Linked DNA regions of Homo sapiens: region 1 is linked to region 2. Evidence: promoter capture Hi-C in human tissues and cell types (Jung and others, 2019). All regions are on one chromosome and are shown on one strand. The core of a region is centred on a gene start or on the middle of the fragment in contact, and the rest is flanking DNA. Distances in the headings are between cores, read along the strand shown.

The links. The method cuts DNA at HindIII sites, captures the fragments that hold promoters and counts their contacts. A contact is called where the count stands out against the background at its distance.
Region 1: a fragment that was not itself captured here is called in contact with the fragment with the promoter of GRXCR2 in region 2 in 2 of the 25 tissues and cell types used here (H1 embryonic stem cells and pancreas).

Annotation. Positions count from the first base shown.
Region 1 is chr5:145,951,795-145,955,823 of GRCh38, reverse strand. The region is part of intron 2 of SH3RF2 (SH3 domain containing ring finger 2); the gene reads right to left. The region is part of intron 3 of LOC107986458 (a long non-coding RNA gene); the gene reads left to right. Among named protein-coding and RNA genes, the nearest start is that of SH3RF2, 17 kb to the right of the region's middle. The HindIII fragment of the contact is 3,739 bases long and covers 70-3,808 here.
Region 2 is chr5:145,870,462-145,874,496 of GRCh38, reverse strand. GRXCR2 (glutaredoxin and cysteine rich domain containing 2) reads left to right here and starts at 1,483. Exons shown (of 3, transcript NM_001080516.2): 1 at 1,483-1,864. The coding sequence starts at 1,529. The HindIII fragment of the contact is 8,071 bases long and covers 1-4,035 here.

The sequences.
Region 1 (4,029 bases), core at 690-3,189, 81 kb before region 2:
ATGATATGATCACACAAAGTAACATTTTATATGACATTGAATTATAGACATGTATGGCTGACCATATATGCTTATGTTCATCTATGGTAGATAAAACATAGCTCTGCATGGTCAGGTACCTCAATCCTTAATGCCCTTCCGACAGGACAAAGACAGGGAGAGTGGGAAAATTTTGCTCTACTTCTCTGACAAGTTTTGGTACTGGAAGCTCATTTTATGTTCTTCCCACCTTTCTAATACCCTGATCTTCCTTTTTCTCTTCAACTTTTATTTTAGATTCCTGTCCATGTGCAGGTTTGTTACCTGAGTATATTGTGGGATGCTGAGGTTTAGGGCGCGAATGATCCTGTCACCCAGGTACTGAGCATAGTACCCAATAGATAGTTTTTCAATCCTTATCCCCCTCTTTTCCTTCCCCACCTAGTAGTCCCCAGTGTCTATTGTTGCCATCTTTATGACCATGAGTACCCAATGTTTAGCTCCCACTTACAGGTGAGAACGTGCAGTATTTGGTTTTCGGTTCCTGGAATAATTCACTTAGGATGATGGCCTCCAGCTGCATCTATGTTACTGCAAAGGACATGATTTTGTTCCCCAACTGAAAATCAGGTCAGTTTTTGAACTGAAAATCAGATCAGGTTATTCCCTGCTTTAATCTTTCTCATTACATCTAGTACCCAACCCCCTTCGTTACTGATATAGTTTGTATATTTGTCCCCACCCACATCTAATGTTGAATCATAATCACCAGTACTGGAGGTGGGACCTAGTGGGAGGCGATTGGATCATGGGGGTGGATTTCTTATGAATGGTTTGCACCATCCCTTGGTGCTGTCCTCATGAGATCCAATCATTTAAAAGTGTGTGGCACTTCCCCCCACCTCTGGTCATTTAAAAGTGTGTGGCAACTCCCCGACCCTCTCCTCTCCACTCTCTCCCTCTCTCTCTCTCTCTCGCTCCTTGCTCCTGCTTTCACTATGTGACATGTCTGTTCCTACTTTGCCTTCTGCCATGATTGTAAGCTTCCTGAGGTCTCCCCAAAGCTGATGTTGGAGCTATGCTGCCTGGACAGCCTGCAGAACCATGAGCCAATTAAACCTCTTTTCTTATAAATTATCCATTCTCTAAATGTAAAATCCCAAACTATAAAAATCCTGGAAGACAACCTAGGTAATAGCATCCTGGAACATAGGAACGGGCAAAGATTTCATGACAAAGACACTAAAAGCAATTGCAACAAAAGCAAAAATTGACAAATGGAATCTAATTAAACTTAAGAGCTTCTGCACTGCAAAGGAAACTGTCAACAGAGTAAACAGACAACCTACAGAATGGGAGAAAATATTTGCAAACTATGCATCTGACAAAGGTCTAATATTTGGCATCTATAAGGAACTTAAATTTATAAGAGAAAAACAAACAACCCTATTAAAAAGTGGGCAAGGAACATGAACAGACACTTTTCAAAAGATGACATAATGCATCCAACAAGCATATAAAAAAAGCTCAATATCGCTGATCATTAGAGAAATGCAAATCAAAACCACAGTGAGATACCATCTCACACTAGTCAGAAGAGCTATTATCAAAAAGTCAAAAAATAACAGATGCTTGCGAGGTTGCGGAGAAAAGGGAATCCTTATACACTGTTGGTGGGAGTGTAAATGAGTTCAACCATTGTGGAAAGCCATATGGCGATTCCTCAAAGAGCTAAAAGCAGAAGTACCATTCCACTCAGTAATCCCATTACTGGGTATATACCCAGAGAAATATAAAGCATCTACCACAAAGACACATGCACATGAATGTTCATTGCAGCACTGTTCACAATAGCAAAGGCATAGAATCAATCTAAATGCCCATCAATGACAGATTGGATAAAGAAAATGTGATATATATACACCGTGAAATACTATGCAACCATAAAAAGAATGAGATCGTGTCTTTTGAGGGAACATGGATGGAGCTGAAGGCCATTGTCCTTAGCAAACTAATGCAGGAACAATAAACCAAATACGGCATGTTCTCACTTTTAAGTGGGAGCTAAATGATGAGAACACATGGACACAAAGAAGGGAACAAAAGACACTGGGGTCTACTCGAAGGTGGAGGATAGGAGGAGGGAGAGGAGCAGAAAAAGTAACTTTTGGGTACTAGGCTTAATTCCTGGGTGATGAAATAACCTGTACAACAAACCCCTGTGACATGTGCTTACCTGTATAACAAACCTTCACATGTACCCCTGAACCTAAAATAAAAGTTAAACAAGTAAATAAATTACCCAGTCTCAGGTATTTATAGCAATGCAAGAATGGCCTAACACAATTACCATGGTTTCTTTGTCCCTCTGCATCTTCCCCTGCAGCTTATCTCATGCCACTCGCCTCAGTGCTTACCACCCCTCAGCCACGTGGGTTTTCTCTCAGTTTCCAGAACTCAGATCTTGCCAAGTCCTCTCCACTCTTTGAGAACAGGGTCAGGATGTTCTCCCTCATTGGAACCCACTTCCCTGCCTTCCTCTCATCCTTCAGGTATCAGCATAAATGCCTCCCTTAGAGAGGTCTTTTTTTGACCACCCTAATAAAATATCTTTCCTTTTATCCTCCATTTCATACCCTTGTCTATATTTAGTTTATATAGCAGACACATTGCAATTTGCAATTATTTTTATTATTTGTGTGTGTGTGTGTGTGTGTGTGACAGAGAGAGAGAGAGAGAGACTGTTGGTGTTCTGCCTATATTTCTTCAGAGCCTTTACCATTTCTGTGCAATTCAGCTTCACTTCCAATAGCTGGCACCTATGATTTTGTTGAATGCCTTCTATTGAGATTCTAGAATGTACTTTGCCTTTGGGGGCAGCTCTTAACCAATGACAGGTATGAGGGTATAAATAACCCAGATCTCTCATCTCTTGGCCAGCACAGTTCTAAGGTCTGGGTTTTATACTGTTTCCCAGAGTTTCCTCAAAAGATTAAGCTTTACTGCCCACTGCAGTAGCTGGCCTCATAACACAGCTTTCTTGGCCGCCCTCTCTTCCCTATATGATGCCATCACTCCCCTGCCAATGTCCTTACGCCTCCCAGATAATCTATAAGCATTCAATCCTCATCTCAGGATCTGCTTCTGAGGGGAACCCAGCTAAGATTATAAACATTTTTGTTCCTTTTATCTATCCCATTAGAGTATACATTACACGTCTGTCTTGTTCATGGTTATATCCTAGAGCTTAGTTTAGTGTCTGACACATAGTGAGCACTCAATATACATTTGTGTAGTCAGTGAATATTAGTGGTTATTATTATTGAAATGTAGAATTTCTTCCTTTCACTGAGTTGTGTTACACCAGTAGCTTACCATATCCCCCACAGAATGTGAGATGTGCCCGGCAGAACTTAGAGGAACAAAAGTTGTTTTTTTTTCTATAGTGCTGTTAAAAGTAGCACTACTATTAAGATATTGTTTTAGCAAGGTTTGTTATGGTTAGAGGCTCTTTATGAGAAGGAATCCCAAGAAAGATTCTCTAGGATTGTGGCAATTCTTCCTGGTATGACCTGAAACCCCAGCATGTGGATACTTTAGAGATGTTTTAGGCAACAAAACCCCATTATGCTTATTTACAGGTGGTTTAAAGAGAGCAACTGAACCCTGGACCAGGGACCCTCAGTGGAATAAGATGGATACTTATGCAGAGAGAGTGGCAATAATAATATTAAATAATAGCAAAAATAATTAACATGTGCTAAGTGCATTTATGGGCCAGTCCTCAAGTGTATTTGTTAATCTCAGAACCAATGTAGGTGGTAGGTTACAAATTATTCCCATTCTTGATTAAGAGATTGGGGCTCAGGGAGGTTGACTTATCCAAAGTCATACAGCTATCAAAAGGTAGAACTGAGATTTGAAACTAGCTATTATAACTTCAGAGCCCCTGTTCTTACCTAGTGCTCTATCTTGTCCCCCAGGTTAGGAATACTTAAAACCAGTTCAATAGGAGAACTAAGCGAGGTAGTCCAGCCCGGAGAAAATAAG
Region 2 (4,035 bases), core at 234-2,733:
GGTGCGGTGGCTCATGCCTGTAGTCCCAGCACTTTGGGAGGTCAAGGCAGGCGGATCACGAGGTCAAGAGATTGAGACCATCCTGGCCAACATGGTGAAACTCCATCTCTACTAAAAATACAAAAATTAGCTGGGCATGGTGGCGTGTGCCTGTAGTCCCAGCTACTCGGGAGGCTGAGGCATGAGAATTGCTCGAACTCAGGAGGTGGAGGTTGCAGTGAGCCGAGATCGTACCACTGCACTCCAGCCTGGCAACAGAGTGAGACTCCGTCTCAAAAAAAAAAAAATAAAATAAAATAATAAAAAAAAAGAATCCAAGCGAATGGCTGTAGGGGAATAGGAGGGGTCAATTTGGGTAACTCAGTAAATGGTGATGCTGGTAGCAAAGACAGGGAGAAAGGCTTTACTCCACTTTCAGCTCCTCACATCCAACCTACCATTTTCTACCCAGCCCAAGGGCCCTTTTCTTTACAAACCTTCTTCCATCCTTGTCTCCTTAGAGACCACTTCCTTCCCAGAGTGGCTATTCTGGGATTCAGCTGTGGGCAGTTTGCTCTCTAAGCATGAGGTTATTATTTCACCTGTGTGAGGTCTGTATGGGATTGTAGGACTGTTCTCAGGCCCAGGTCACATGCTTCTGTGCTATTCACTCCAGCCACTAGTTCAGTGTCAGGCATTTACGAAGTCCAACAGGCAATGGGGACTTGTGCTGTGATTGCAAATGAAATCTTAAATGTAAAATACATACCAAGTGGAGGTGCTCTGGTTAGCGTAGGGGGAGAAGGCCCAGAATCCAGGACCCTCGGCCTTCTCCTGTTCTTAGCAGCAGCCTCCAAGAACCTCCACTGTATCTAGGACGTCATTCCCTCTTCTAGAACCAGAACTGGAAAACTTCTGGTTGTGTGGGCTGATCTTGGGTTTTGGAGTCAGATAGATCTGGGTTCAAATCCCTGCTCTGTCACTTACTTAGGTGTAATAGAGCAGACAAATGATGAAGATAAATGACAAGTGGCTCTAAGCCTCACTTTCCCCTGTGTAAAACAAAGGTAAGATTTTCTTTGTAGGGTTATCGTGAGGATGAAATAAAATAATGCATGTAACAATCTCTGGTACTTATGAAATGCTCACTAGATTTTAATTGTCATTGCTAACAATAAGAAGACACTTGTTAACTAATTGAGTGTCTGATCCTTATTGAATTGGCACATGTTCAGTCTAAATAAACTTCTTCATCCTCAGGTTAAGAAAGGTTAGGGTTGGGGTGAAGTCATGGTGAGCTTGGGATTATGAGAAGAATCAATCTTGTCTTATATTCCATCCACTCCATCAAACCAGAATCACCTGCCTTTTCATGAGGGTCTATCAATATTTAATGTATGGGTGTCAGTTGCTGTAAACTGACCATACCCCAGCAACAACTTGAATTAATTATATGCAGGAGGAGAGAAAATAAAATGCCTTTTTCTCAGAGGCCCAAGTTTCACCGGCTGCACGGAAGGCTGGAGACCACAGGGTCAACTTTCTGCTGATGGAGGACCCTGAGAAAAAGCTGAATCAGAAGAGTGATGGCAAACCCCGGAAAGTACGATTTAAAATCTCCTCCTCCTACAGCGGTCGAGTATTGAAGCAGGTCTTTGAGGATGGGCAGGAATTAGAGTCACCAAAGGAGGAATACCCTCACAGTTTTCTGCAAGAGTCTCTTGAAACAATGGATGGTGTTTATGGGTCTGGGGAAGTCCCCAGGCCCCAGATGTGCTCCCCTAAGCTGACTGCTCAGAGGATCAGTGTGTTTAGAGAGGGTAATGCCTACACCTTGGCAGGCGGCCAGCCTCGGTTCAACGATTACAAGGCGAATGACCATAAGGTTGGTATTGTGCATGGCATATAGGCTTTAAGGGTAGGGCTTCCTAAAACGTGTTTAGAGAAACTCCTAAATGGTTCAGATTTGTGTCTTGCTCCCCCTCCGGTACCAACCAGAACTGTTGGTGCACCAAATGGGAAGTTGTTATTAGACGAATATTTCTGGGGTAAAAATAACATGCTTGTTGACTACTAATTGGAAAGTGCAATGAGCATATATAGTATTCAAATTCCATCCAAGGTAATACATTGTAATTGGATCTTTGACTGAGTTTTCCTGGAATGTAAATTAAATAGAGGTGCAGTGGTTTTCAGGTTGTCAGACTGCGGTTTTAGACAATTATGCAGTCATTTTGTTTCCTGAAAGAGCTGAGTATTTGAAAGTGCTCATTTTACTCCAGCCAATTACTCAGCTTGCAGTTTATCCATGTCTTGTTTTTTACCCCTATTGCCTTCCTCATACTGCCTGCTTTGTCTATTTATTTTTCCTTTCCATTGCTCCTTAGCATAAGCTCTGGGTAGTTGGAGTCCTGGGAAGGGATGGTGAAACGCAAATCAGCCAGAGGATATGTTATGTGAGGAAGAAGTTTGAGCTAATGGTTCGATTGAAGAATGTGTTTAATCTATGAATTTCAATTACTTCCCAGTACCATGGATAATCAAAAGTCCATACATGATTTTCTTTTAAGGTAGAACCTGGAAAACATACACTGGTATCCAAAAATTCATAGGAGATGTATATATGCTGTCAGTGGGACCATGAATGACTTCTTAAAAAAGATAAAATACAATTATATAATGTATCCACGTTATTAATGAATAGCACACCAGGATGTGTTCTCATCTTTAAAGTGTGAAAGCCAGATAATTACTCTTGAATTATTTTTATTGTTAGTTTCCTAAGGGAATAGATAACACATCTATTGCAGACAAATGTATTACTGGCTTTACTGGCATTGGTAAAAGTATAATTATGGGCATGTTCACAATTACCGAAGATAACACTAGGCTTGTTTTTGATATTAAAAGGGGCTGAAATGAATGACCTCTTATCTTAATGGGGTGACGTATGCAGTACAAAGTGTCATCATGTACTATCTCTGTCTATATCTATGGCATTGGGTCTTTACTATAACCTTGGGGAGAAAGGCCAAAGTATGGTCATTCCCATTTTGCAGAAGAGAAAAATTGAGTGCCAAGTTGTTAAGGGATCCATCTGATACTACAGGGTCATTGGGTACAGAGTCAGAATAAGAATCCAGATCTTCTGATGCTACAAATGTTTTGCTTTAGGGCATGTTCCTTTTTTTAGAGAACCATATTATTACATAATAATAATAGCTACCATTTGTTGAGTGCTTATTAGGTCCTAGGCACTTGGCTAGTCTTGTACTTATACTATTTCTTTTTAACTATGTCTTATTTGTAGATTTAGAATTTACAAAGTCACAGTTCATGCAAACCTTATGCAAGGCCACAGTAGATAAATTTTGGGTTGCTTGATCTTCATAAGTCATGTGCTAAATTTAGCATTTATGAAAATGTATAATTTTTTTTTTCTTTTTTAGAGACAGGGTCTCATCTGTCAACCAGGCTGGAGTGCAGTGGTATGATCATAACTCACAGCAATCTCAAACTCCTGGGCTCAAGGGATCCTCCTGCCTCAGCCTCTCTGGTAGCTAGGACTATAGAATTTATAAATCTAGGTAAATGAGTCTTCATGGCAGCATGGCTCAGTTGGTTAAAACACAGTACTCTATGTGTTTTAGAGGCCATGTTGAAGGTCTGATTCCTGCTTGGCCTCATTATCTCTGTTTTCTTTGTTTCCTGATCAAGTGCCCCATCCCAATCATAGCCAGATTCTGAGCATGAGAGTGACCAGGATGGATTCATGTAGCTGCACACCCTGGAATCATTTGTCAATGTGGTATTTATGAAAAAGAAGAAAATGAGAGCTAATGTCATGACTTTTCAATAACGAATCCAAATGTAAAACACTTCCTAGTAAATATTGGCTATGAGACCACATTGGGTAGCAATTAAGTGCAATAATTCAAAGCAAGGGCTCTGAACTCAAACAGATATATGTACAACATTGTTCATAGCAGCATTATTCTCAATTGCCTAAAGGTGGAAAGAACCCAAATGTCCATAGACTGATGAATGGATAAACAA